Linked DNA regions of Homo sapiens: region 2 is linked to region 1. Evidence: promoter capture Hi-C in human tissues and cell types (Jung and others, 2019). All regions are on one chromosome and are shown on one strand. The core of a region is centred on a gene start or on the middle of the fragment in contact, and the rest is flanking DNA. Distances in the headings are between cores, read along the strand shown.

Region 1 (6,269 bases), core at 1,750-4,249:
ACTATTATTATTACTATTTATTTGAAAGAAACAGGGTCTTACTCTGTCACCCAGGCTGGGGTGCAGTGGCGAGATCATAGCTCATTGCAGCCTTAAATTCCTGGGCTTAAGTGGTCCTCCCACCTCTGCCTCCAGAGTAGCTGAGACAATAGGCATGCACCACCACAACCAGCTAGTTTTTAAAATTTTTTTTGTAGAGACAAAGTCACGCTGTGTTGTCTAGGCTGGTCTCGAACTCCTGGTAAGAGTAAAACTATTAGCATTCAAGGTATAATTATTTAAAGTATAATTATTACTATTCTATTTTATGTTGACTATTGCAATAGCTTCCTGTCTCCCAAGTTATCCATGTGAAGCCAGACAAATCTTTTTAAAATGCAATTTTTGTTGTTGTTGTTTTGTTTTTTGAAGTTGAGTCTCTTTTTATTGTCCAGTCTGGAGTGCAGTGGCCTGATCTCAGCTCACTGCAACCTCCACCTCCCTGGTTCAAGCGATTCTCCTGCCTCAGCTCCTGAGTAGCTGGGATTACAAGCACACGCCACCACACCCGGCTATTTTTTGTATTTTTACTAGAGACAGGATTTCATCTTTCTGGCCAGGCTGCTCTTGAACTCCTGACCTCGTGATCCACCCACCTCAGCCTCTCAAAGTGCTGGGATTACAGGCGTGAGCCACCACGCCCGGTCCTAAAACGCAAATTTGATCCTGCCACCGCTTGCATAAAACTCTCCAGTCCTCCCAATCTTCTCAGGAAAAAGTCCAGTACCTTTAACACAGCTTACATGACCTGGCCCCTGTCCACCTTACAAACTACTCCCCTCCAACCACAAGGACATTCTTTCAGTTCTTCATTCTCAACTAGCATGCTCCTTTCACTTGCAGGGTCTTAGCACCATACTGTCCTCTCACTCAGAAATATTCCTTCCCCCTTATCTTATTAACTCTTCCTCTTTCTTCGTTGCTCAGTTTATGCCATTTCCTCAAGAAAGCCTTCCCTGTTTCTCCCAAGCCAGGTCAATCTCCTCTGTGACATGATTTTATAGAACCATGTTCCATTCCTTCAGACCACTAACTCCTTTTATCTAGGGTCTTCATGTGTTGTCTGCAGGAGAGAAGGACCGAAACTGTTTTGTTTTGTTTTGTTTTGTTTGAGTCAGATTCTTGCTCTGTCGCCCATGCTGGAGTGCAGTGGTGCCATCTCGGCTCACTGCAACCTCCACTTCCCGGGTTCAAGAGGTTTTCCCATCTCAGCCTCCCGAGTAGTTGGGACTACAGGTACCCATCACCAAGCCCAGCTAATTTTTGTAGTATTTTTAGTAGAGATGGCTTTTCACCATGTTGGCCAGGCTGGTGTCCAACCCCTGACCTCAAGTGATCCACTTGCTTCAGTCTCCCAAAGTGCTGGATTACAAGCGTGAGAGACTGCACCAGGCCCCAAGACTGTTTTTACTACCACTGTATTTCTAGTGCCTGGTACAACACATTGTAAGTGTCAGTAAACATATGTTGGATAAAATTTTAAAATGCATGTTTATTTTCTCAGTCCCTACTATGCAGCAAATCCTATGCTGGGCCCTAAAGGGGAACCAAGGTTAGTAAGAGAAATGCTTGACCTTAAGGAACTCCATGCCAGTTAGAAGCAATGGATCCGTAAACCAAAAGTATCTGAGACCAGTCTCAATCGAGAAAGTTTATATTGCCAAGGTGAAGGATGCGATGATAACACGGCCTCAGGAGCTCCTCAGGACATGTGCCCAAGGTGCGGGTACAGTTTGGTTTTATACATTTTAGGGAGACATGAGTCATCGATCAATACATGTAAGATGTACGTTGGTTAGGATCGGAAAGACGGGCTAACTCGGGGCAGTGGGGGGCTTCTACCTTATAGGTAGACTTAAAGATTTTTTGATTGGTAATTGGTTGAAAGAGTTATTATCTAAAGACCTGGAAGTAAATAGAAAGAAATATCTGGGTTATGATTATAAGGGGTTGTGGAGACCAAGGTTTTATCATGCAGATGAGGCTTCCAGGTAGCCTGCTATTCAGACAGAATAGATTGTAAATATTTCTTATCAGTCTTGAGTCTACCAGTCTTAAGGTCTCTGTGTTGATGTTTGTGAGGCATGTCTGACTACCACTTCCCATCATGGCCTGAACTAGTTTTTCAGGATAAATTGGAATGTCCTTGGCTTCAGATAGGGTCCACCAGTCAGTTGGGGGGCTTAGACTTTTATTTTTGGTTTACAGATATCACATGGACTATAGAGACACATTTCTGTAACAGAGTAGAAGTGCAACATGAGAAGAACAAAGTGCTTTAGGCGACAAGCGGAGGAGGGAGACATCAATCCCAGATGGGAAAAATCAATTCACTTTCTGTGTGTGGTGTTACTTATTTATTTATTTTTTGCAGGGAAGGGATCGATTCATTCAACGTACACCTTGAATGAATAACTATAGTTCTCCCTACGTCCTATGCACTGTCCTAAGTGTTTTACGTGGTTAAGGACACTAAGATTTTACAGATGGGGAAAACAATGCACACGACAGTCAAGTGACCCGCTCAACGTCACACAGCTACTAAGTGGTAGAAAAGGCAGTTGAACCCAGGCTGCTTGGCTCCAGAGTCTAATATCACGGGGAAAACCTCACGGGAGACGTGGCAACGAAGTTGTGCTTCATTGAAGTATCTGTCCAGGTGGAAAACCGCAGGGCCTCTCTAGCAAAATCCAGAACCAGAAAATACTTGCTTAATTATGAGTTTCCTTCCTTCTTTTGCCCACTATCCCCATTTAACCTGCGGAGGGATTTCAGAAGTGCAGTGAATAAAGATGCAGGGGACTATGGAACACTAATTTCCGGCTACGGCGAATTCAGGCTGTTTCCATGGAAACAGTAACGGGTGGGCAGCTAGGTATAGTCTCGCGGTGCTTGAACCAGCGGAAGTGACGTCGCCGCTCGCGAGGACCTCAGGTGGATCGCCGCGGCCCCTCCTCCCAGAGCGGCAGCCTTTTCCCGCGCGTGCTGCCTTCGCCGCTCGGGCCGCCCGGGGGAAAACATGGCGTCTGCCCTGGAGCAGTTCGTGAACAGTGTCCGACAGCTCTCAGCTCAAGGTAACGCCCTAGGCCGCCGGGCTGGGCATGGGCGGGTACCGGGAACTGGCCTGGATCCCCAGGCGCCAGCACGGACGGCTGGAACAGCCCTTTTAGTCCTGAGACTCTTCTCCGGGGCCGGGCTTGGGGTTGCGGCGTTTAGATCAGGGCAGGATCGAGCGCGGCCGAGTGTAGGCAGCCCCCTCGCGCTCCGCTGTCCTCGCCGGCCGGCCTCCCCTCCCTCGGGCCGCCGGGAGCCCCCTCCCCCCGGCCTGGGCCCCTTCCACCGGGCGCTTTGCTTGACAGTTTGGGGGCGTGACTTCCGCCAGGAGCCATCTCGGGCGACTATTGGTTCCTTCTGTCTCTCTTGCCTTCGGTGATTGGCGCACCGCCATGTCATCTTTGCCGCCGATCCGCAGCTTGCTGACTAGGCCGCCGGGAGCGGGCGGGAGGCGAGTCCGTTCTGGGTGTCTTGGCTCTATGGCTCGCCTCTGCCAGCTCCTCCGCTGCCAGGCGGCGCACGCTCGGGAACCTGTGCGCCTATTTTGGTCCTACAGAATGCTGCGGAAGCTCTCGCTCGTAGGACTCCATTTCTTCTTCTTTGTTTTTTTTTAGCCGAGGCTGGAGTGCAGTGGCGCGATCTCGGCTCACTGCAACCTCAGCCTCCCGGCTTCAAGCGATTCTCCTGTCTCAGCCTCCCGAGTAGCTGAGATTACAGGCGCCCGCCAGCTCACACGGCTTTTTTTTTTTTTGAGACGGAGTCTCACTGTCTCCCAGGCTGGAGTGCAGTGGCGCGGTCTCGGCTCACCTCAACCTTCGCCTTCGAGGTTCAAGCGATTCTCCTGTCTCAGCCTCCCGAGTAGCTGGGATTACAGGCGCCTGCCCGGCTAATTTTTGTATTTTTAGTAGAGACAGGGTTTCACCATGTTGGCCTGGCTGGTCTCGAACCTTGATCTCAGGTGATCCACTGGCCTCGGCCTCCCAAAGTGCTGGGATTACAGGCATGAGCCACCGCGGCCAGCCCACGCGGCTAATTTTTTCGTATTTTTAATAGAGATGGGGTTTTTACCATGTTGGCCAAGCTGGTTTCGAACTCCTCACCTGAAGTGATCCGCCCACCTCGGCCTCCCAAAGTGCTAGGATTACAGGCGTGAGCCACTGCGCCCGGCCAGGACTCCATTTCTAGGGGTAGAATTGTGATGATTTTACTCGCACTTTCCAGGTTGTTTGGTTCATTCATTGCGTATGAATGTACCGAATTCTGGACCTGAAATTCGAATGATTAGATGCTGGCTGTGAAGGCCCTTTTAACTATCCCGTGCTTCAGTTTCTTCGTCTGCAAAATAAGTCCCTAGTTTATGTAGAGTTGTGAAGATTCAATGAGAGAAACCATGTAAAAGCAGTTGGAACAGTGCCTGTCATAAGGGGTGCAATAAATATAGCTGCAAATTATTGTTACCGTCATTAATTGCAAAGTTCTAGGAGCTGCTTGACCTTGGACAAATAACCTTTAATCTCTGAGTCTTTTGCATCTCCATTGTAAAAATGGAGGGGTGCTTTTACCTCACTGGTGTAAGACAAATGGTCTGATATGGAGCTGCACTTAATAAGAATTCTTCCTCTTTTTCCTTTTTATTAATAGAAATGAGGTTCACAGGGAAGGCACAGGCTTGCCTTTTCTATGAATAAAGGAACCACTGGTTTGTTAATTTATTCGACAAATACTTAGTGTTCTCCTTCCTGGGGTGTAGTGTAGTTAGAAGCTTCAGGTTGAAATCCTGTCGCGGTCACTTCTTGGGTGAACCACTTAATTTCCCTGGGCCAATTTTCTTAATTACAAAACAGAACTAGGGCTGTTGTGGTCTTCAGGTTATAGGATGCTATAGGAACAGTCTGCTAGACAGAGATAAATATGGTAACTTTCATTGCTGTCGGCTACTGTGCCTCACACTCACTGGATAGGAAATCTTTGAGTTTCAGGCCAGGCGCAGTGGCTCACTCCTGTAATTCCAGCACTTTGGGAGGCCGAGGCGGGCGGATCATCTGAGGTCAGGAGTTCAAGACCACCCTGGCCAACATGGTGAAACCCTGTCTCTACTAAAAATGCAAAATTAGCCAGGCATGGTGGCGGGCGCCTGTAATCTCAGCTACTCGGGAGGCTGAGGCAGGAGAATGGCATGAACCTGGGAGGTGGAGCTTGCAGTGAGCCAAGATCGCGCCACTGCCCTCCAGTCTGGGTGACAGAGCAAGACTCCGTCTCAAAAAAAAAAAAAAGAAAAAAAAGAATTTTATTGGCCACATCTCTGGTTACACTGATTTCAAATGCACTCTGTGACACTTAAACTTTTTTTTTTTACTCTGCCCTTGGCCCTGCACTAATTAATTATCTGGTGATTTCATAGTGACCCAGCTTTTATTTCAGTCTCAACTGGGCACTGATTGTTAACTAGTAGAGAACTAATGGATTGCAATGCTTATTTCTGGGTGTTACAAATTATTGTTAATATATTTAGAGTAATGGTTTACAAAGGCAAATTATTCAACTAGAAGTTACTTCATACCTACCAGTGAGATCTGTAATACAATGATGATGAGTTGGTATTTCCCAGTTAAATCTGTGTGATCTCAAGAGGTGACACCTAATAAGATCACAGCTGTTTTATTCTTGTTTTGTAATGCATGTATAATAATGATACATTTCCTTTGCTTTCAGTAAAATGTATCAAATTGAAAAGTGTTAAATTATCAAAAGTACCTAGCTATAGTCACTTGTATTTTAAGCATTATACTATGTTGTATTCTTTTAGTAAGGAAAAGATTATGCAGTTGCTCTGTAGAAATAGAGAAGTTGGAAACTTGAGGTTAATGCCCATGGACTTAAATATATCCTCACTGTTACCAGAAAGACAGAGTGTGACCATGGTATCTGTCATGACAGTAATTGTCAAAATTGATGGGTCTACTTAAAGGTACCAATTCAGGCCTAATTTTTTTTTTCCCCCGAAACGGAGTCTTGCTCTGTTGCCCAGGCTGGAGTACAGTGGCGCAATCTCAGCTCACTGCAGCCTCCATCTCCCGGGTTCAAGGATTGTCCCAGGTTAAAGGATTCTCCCACCTCAGCCTCCCGAGTAGCTGGGATTACAGGTGTGTGCCACCACACCCAGCTAATTTTTGTAT
Region 2 (6,516 bases), core at 1,227-3,726, 160 kb after region 1:
GGGCTCCAAGTGATTATGGGACGTGGCACTCTGTGGGCCACCCAGAACAAGTGTGGTCCTCTCTGACTGGCACCCTTGCCCCTCTCTCCTTGGCATCTTTCCTCCCTGGACTTAACAATTGTTTGCACAAGGTCATGCCTAAGTTTATCAGAGAAACTGTAGGCAGGGCTACCCAGCCTGGACCACGTGGAGACTTGCCCAGCACGGCCCCTGCCTTCAGCCTGGCACTTCACTGAGCTATGGCCTGATTAGGCAGCGCCCAGGCAGGAACACCACCTCCCTCCTCCCTTGGGCTGGTGGGCTGTGCTGCAGACATGGTCTGGCTGCTCGAGCCAGGTCTAAGGAGAGGTCCTTCCTTTCTTTGGAATTCAGGACATTGGCTCCAGAGTTTTCTCAGGAAGGAACACAGCCCTTGGGGAGCACCAGCTGAGTTCCTAGGCGCCCCTGGAACCCACATCCTGGGAGGCACAACACAGGAGCAGGGCTCATGGGGGCTGTGTGGCTGGCTCAGGTCAAAGGTGGTCTCCCGGCTCTTCTTGCTGCAGCCAAACTGCTTCTAGGAGCCCGATCTAACAAATCACAAGCCCCTCTCTTTTGAGGAGGTGCTGGTGACTACCCCAAAGGCCATCAAGTGTAGAAAGGGCACTTAACTCTTGGCCCAAAGTCCCTCTGGGGCTGCAGACCTCCCCAGGGAGCAGCACTCTCCACAGACAGATATCCCCAAAGCCCAAGTCCTCTGAGGAAACTGGAAAGAGCCGCAGAAAAGGGGTCATGATCCCATGCAGGCCCAGAGTAAGCAAAGCCTCTGCCTGGCCTCTGTGCCACAACTCAGAGAAGTGTTAGGCCAACCACGCCTAGGGACTGACAATGGGCCTAGCAGGTACCCACCAGGCAGAACTCCCTTCCCCCTTCCCAGTCGTCACCGCCAGTCCTGGTGTACTCCACAGTCCTCATGGTTCAAAGGGCAGTTCCACAATCATCCTCCACACTGTAGCCTCCTGAAGCTGCATGGAACAGCCCCTAGGCTGGGCTGAGCCCTCATCCCAATGCCTGTCCTCAGGTGTCAGGTCTGATTCCAGGTCCTATCACCTCCTTGGGAAGGGAGCCATGATTCTGCACTCTTCCCCACCCTTCAGGTGTCCCACATGAAACCTGCATGCTACAACCTGGCAGACCCCAGAGAGGGTCCTGCAACCCCAGAGGGACTTTGGGCCAAGAGTTGGATGCCCATTCTACACCCGATGGCTTTTGGGGTGGTCCCCAGCACATCCTCAAAAGAGAGGCTTGTGATTTGTTAGATCAGGCTCCTAGAAGTAGTTTGGCTGCAGAAAGAAGGGCCGGGAGACCACCCCATGACCTGGGCTAGCCACACAGCCCCCGTGAGACTCCCAGGACCTTAGGCAGCTTTGGCCAGCCAGGGCTACCTAGGCTGGACCTACAGCACAGGCCAGGGAGACCAGCTCATGGGGCTTCCATCAGCCCAGGACAGGAGGAAGAGCTGGAGCCACAAACCACTGCTCTCCCAGCTGTTTCCCTCTGCAGAAGTTCTGAGATCTAAGGTAGACTCTAAGCAATCTGTTTTCAGAGCTCTCTAGCCAAGAAGAGCCTACCCTTGGAGTCAAGTCCTAGCTCTGCACTCACTAGCTCTGTGATTCTGGGCAAGTCGCAAATTGTGAGCCTCAGTTTCCCTAATGTAAAATGGTAGTAAATATAGGCCTCGTTTTGATTGTAAAGTGGTGTAGCTATTGTGGAAAACTTTAGCAGTTCCTCAAAAAATTACAGACAGTTTCCATATGACCCAACAAGTTGATTACTGGATATATACCCAAAAGAACAGAAGACAGGTACTCGAACATATACACAAATCATATCGTAGCAGCATAATTCGCGATAGCCAAAAGGTGGAAACAGCCCAAATGTCCATCAGTGGACAAATGGATAGACAAAATGCAATATTCATACAATGGAATATTATTTTATTCAGCCATAAAAAGAATGAAATCCTGACACATGCTCCAACATGAGCAAACCTTGGAAACATCACGCTAAGTGAATGAAGCCAGTCACAAAAGGACACACACTGTGTGACTCCATCTTGGTGAAATGTTCAGAAAAGGCCAACCCATAGAGAAAAAGCAGAGGAGTGGTTGCCAGGGGCTAGGGGAGGGGAATGAGAAGTGGCCTAATGTTTTGGCCTAGAGATTTCCCTTTGGGGTGATAATCTACCCCCTTCTGTCACAAGACTACAAACGATACTGCACAGCTGAAGCGGGACTCGAGCTCAGGCTCGGGATGGCACACCCGTGCCGCCTGCTGCTTCTCAGTGCACATCACCACTCTCCTACCAAGCAAGGGTGGTGGTCAGAAGACGATGGGTTCAACAACTTTCCTCGAATGTTTGGGAAGGAGGGAGGACAGTGTCGGGCATGTTCCGTCTTCTACCCTGTGGCAGAGAGGCAGGGCTCAGTGGACTGAGGAGCTCTGGGCATCATGGGCCACCGTCTTCTGCAAGGGGAGGGGGCACATCCTCTACTCAGAGACCATGGCCATCTACTTGTGCTAAGATGGCTGATAAGGGCTCTTGAAAACAATGGACCAAGCCGAAGGGTCAATCCAAAGGCAGCTGAGTACCGTGCAGATTCTCCCTGTGCCTCTCTGGCCCTTGCCTTGGGGCCCTGGGGAGCACCAGAGGCTGGTTTCCCAGGCCACATTCCAGGGGAGAGCAGGGTCTGCCCCTCTGCTGAGCCCCAGGCTGACAGCACCTGGCCCCAGACACTACCTGCAAAACATTTCTGACCCCTCTCCCCAGCTGCAGATGCATGCGGGGCAGGCCCTTTCCCACTGCCCACCAATACAGACTGGGGACTGGCAGGACGGAGGCCTCAGACCTGTGATTCTGGGAGTTCCGTGGGAGGCTTGGCTAGATGAGGCCAGCTGGGAACACCTGGTACACAGTGAAGAGGCCCATGGGTTCTACCCTCCTAGGCACAGCAGTGCTGGGAGCCTCAGAATGATTCAACAGGAACAGCCCCAGAACCATTCTTCATGAACATAGATCCGGCCAAGCCAACCCACAACTCAACTGCTCCAACAGCTCCCAGCCCAAGCTCTGCTCCCTGCACCAATTGCCCCACCTTGCCTCCTGGACCTACTTGCTGGCCTGGGAGACCCACGGTTACCCGCTGCACAGAGCAGCCTCCTTTATCACTGTCCTGCCGGAGAGGCCTGCCTGGCACATCTCCCCTCCTGGATCATTGTCCTGTGCTCCCTGAAGGGAGCCCCTGTGCAGAGGCCATGGCCCATCCACAGGTCTGCCCAACTGCTCTGCATACTAAGCCACAAGGTGCCTGATAAAACTCCTTGTATTTACTCTATACACCTAGGTCAGCACCTTCCAATATGTGCTTCAGTAAACATTTCTGAATGATGGAACAAGCCAACCCTGCTAGATTTATATTATAGATTTAATTATAATATAAATATTTGATTTACTTATATATGTAATAGATACGTTTTATTTATAAAATAGAAACCATCATTTTAACCAAAATCCCATATTCATTAAGGGTTAACAGGATGACACGTGTGCAAAGACCAGACAGTGGCAGGCTCTGCAGGGCATGAGGTAGAGAAGCTGTCTGGAAAGAGATGCAGGCCCCTGAGGAATGGCCTTTGCATGATCAGCACCTAGGCCACCAAGTCCATGGTGTTGGTCTGAAGCCACCACCCCAGCCTTGGGCCAATGACTCTGCTGCAACCAGCAGATGGTAAAGTTGTGAGATGATGCTGCATGACTCCATTTACATCAAGCGTCCAGGACAGGCCAATCGATAAAGATGGGAAGCAGGAGGGGAGGAGTGGCGGTGGCAGCTAAGGGATGCAGGGTTTGTTTGGGGGTTGATGAAAAATGCTCTGAAATTAGATTGTGTTGGTGGTTGTATAACCACGTGAATATCCTCAAAGACAATGACCTGTACACTTCAAACAAAACAAAACAGAACACTGCACAGATAACAGGGAGAAACCACAGGCTCAGCAGCAAGCAGGCCAGGCCTTCCAACAGGCCTTCATGGCTCCATCACGAGAAAGAGCTCGCCTCCCTGCCAACCCAGGCCTGGAAGGCCCTCTACACCCCACCTCTCCCTAACGTCTGGACGTGGAAACTCAGGCCCAGGCTTCCTAACTCCTAGCCCACCACAGCATGCCGCCTCCATCACAGAAGAAGCAGGAACCATGCAGTCAGGGCCAAAATCCCGAGGCCCTACCTTTCCTTCCCTCTACTGGAATGTGACAGTGGGTGTCACCACAGACGCAGAGCTACCGCTCCCATCCCAAGTAGGCCCTCTTCTAAGATTCAGCTCTGGCCCCAGAGACAGTGCATGCTTTCTGAGGCATTCGTGGATTAGCAGGAGGGGGCCTCCAAGATGTGCAGCATCTGCTAATGCCAGCAGCAACAATGCAGTGTGGGCCTCGCCCCAGCCTTGGTGCTGCAGTGCGTGGGCTGGGCCTTCTGCTACAAGTGACTTTGTGGGATGCTGAGGAAATGACCCGTTCAGGGCTTTCCCAGGGGCATAGTTAGAACCACTAAACTACTTTTTTTTTAACGGAGAAAATAAGAAAACAAGGACCTTTTTCACTTGCTGCCAAGACCAGGAAGTTCCTCCTCACACCTGCTACGCCAGGCTGGCCTGCTGGCTTCGGCCGCTGCCTGGGCAGCGAGATACCAGGGCCCCCGCCAAATGGCCAAGGGCCCTCTGCCAGAGGAGCTTCCCTTGGGAGCCCTCACCCAGTTAAGGCCCACCTTCCTCCTAAAACTGGTGGTGGGTGGGCGGGGGGTAGATGGGAAGAAGGTAGGAGAGGCATGGGAACTGGGGAAGAACAGCTTTTCATCCCCCTCACCCACCACAATGGTCAGCTAGCAGGATCCACCAACCAAGGGTGACACTACACCATATGCAACAATGAACTTGAAATGGAGCAGATACCTCAATGCAAGAACAAAGGCTATAAAATGCACAGAAGACCAAGGAAAAAAGCCCTGTAACACTGGATTTAGCAACCATTTCTTGGATATGACGCCAAAAGCACAAGCAACAAAAGAAAAAAAAAAGATAAACTAGACTTCATCAAAATTAAAAACCTTTGTACATCTAAGGACCAAGAGAGCGAAAAGGCAACCTAGGGAAGGGAAGGGAATACTTGCAAATCATATATCTGACAAAGTATTAGTATCTAGAATAAACAGCTCCTAAAACTCAACAACAAAAAACAATTAAAAATAGACAAAGGATGTGAATATACAAAGAAGATATACAAATGGCCAAGACACACATAAAAAGGTGCCTGACGTCATTAGTCATTAGAAAATGAAAGTCACCTAGCACTTCAGAAGGCCAAAGCAGGAGGATTGCTTGGGGCCAGAAGTTTGAGACCAACCTGGGCAAGATAGTGAGACCTCATCTCTAAAAATAAAAATTAAAAAATAAATAGCCAGATGTGGTGGTGTACTCTTATAGTCCCAGTTACTTGGGAGCAGGGAGGATCCCTTGAGCCCAGGAGTTCGAGGTTGCAGTGAGCTGTGATGGCACCACTGCACTCCAGTCTGGGCAACAGAGTGAGACCCTGTCTCTTAAGTAAAAAAAAAAAAAAAAAAAGAAAAGAAAAGAAAAGAAAATGCAAATCACATCAGCCACAATGAGATGCTAGTTCACATTCACTAGGGTAGAGGTAAGTTAAAAAACAGAAAACTGTCAGTGTTGGTGAGGTCATGGAGTAACTGGAACCGTGGTGCAGCCACTCTGGAAAGCAGTATGGAGCTTCTTCAAAAAATTAAACTGGACTTTATAGATTTGCTGTTTCATCCAGCAATTCCACTTGTAGGTATATACCCAGAGGAACTGAACACAGGGACTCGAACAGATATTTGTACACCCACGTACCATGGCAGCATTATTCACAATAGCCAACAGATGGAAGCAGCTCCAGTGTCCACCAATAGATAGATGAATAAACAAAATGTAGTATGTATATACACTGCCATATAATTCAGCCATAAAAAGGAAAGAAATTCTGGTATGTGCTATACTATGGATGAATCTTGAAAACACTATGCTAAGTGCAATAAGCCAGTCACAAAAGGATAGATACTGTATGATTCCACTTATGTGAAGCACCCAAAGTACTCAAATTCATAGAGAGTAGAATGGTGGTTGCCAGGGTGAGAACAGCTACTGGCAAATTTCTTTTCAAAAATTCTGTACCTGACCTATACCCCAGCTACCTTTCTCTGGCATTTCTGTCCCTGTCTTCATAGAAAACAGACCCTTGAGAGCTATACCACTAGTGATGGACTCAGCTGGGGAGGGCAGGCAGGGATACCAATCAGTGGAAGAAGAGACTGCAGGGCAGGGCCAGGAGCCGTCTGCAAGGGCAGCCTCAAGTTGCCACCCCCCAGGGCATGAAACAGTTCCAGCCCCAACCCTGGGGAGTCCCCAAGTGGACAGCTCCCAAAGCTCA

What was found. Contacts are between HindIII fragments. The study calls those that stand out against the background at their distance.
Region 2: a contact is called between a fragment that was not itself captured here and the fragment with the promoter of COPS3 in region 1, in 1 of the 25 tissues and cell types used here (adrenal gland).

The regions. Positions count from the first base shown.
Region 1 is chr17:17,277,976-17,284,244 of GRCh38, reverse strand. COPS3 (COP9 signalosome subunit 3) reads left to right here and starts at 2,999. Exons shown (of 12, transcript NM_003653.4): 1 at 2,999-3,113. The coding sequence starts at 3,059. RefSeq lists enhancers at 2,802-2,901, 3,552-3,611 and a silencer at 3,122-3,361. The HindIII fragment of the contact is 6,625 bases long and covers 1,320-6,269 here.
Region 2 is chr17:17,113,024-17,119,539 of GRCh38, reverse strand. All of the region lies in intron 3 of MPRIP (myosin phosphatase Rho interacting protein), which reads right to left. Among named protein-coding and RNA genes, the nearest start is that of MPRIP, 74 kb to the right of the region's middle. RefSeq lists an enhancer at 1-310. The HindIII fragment of the contact is 5,901 bases long and covers 1-5,426 here.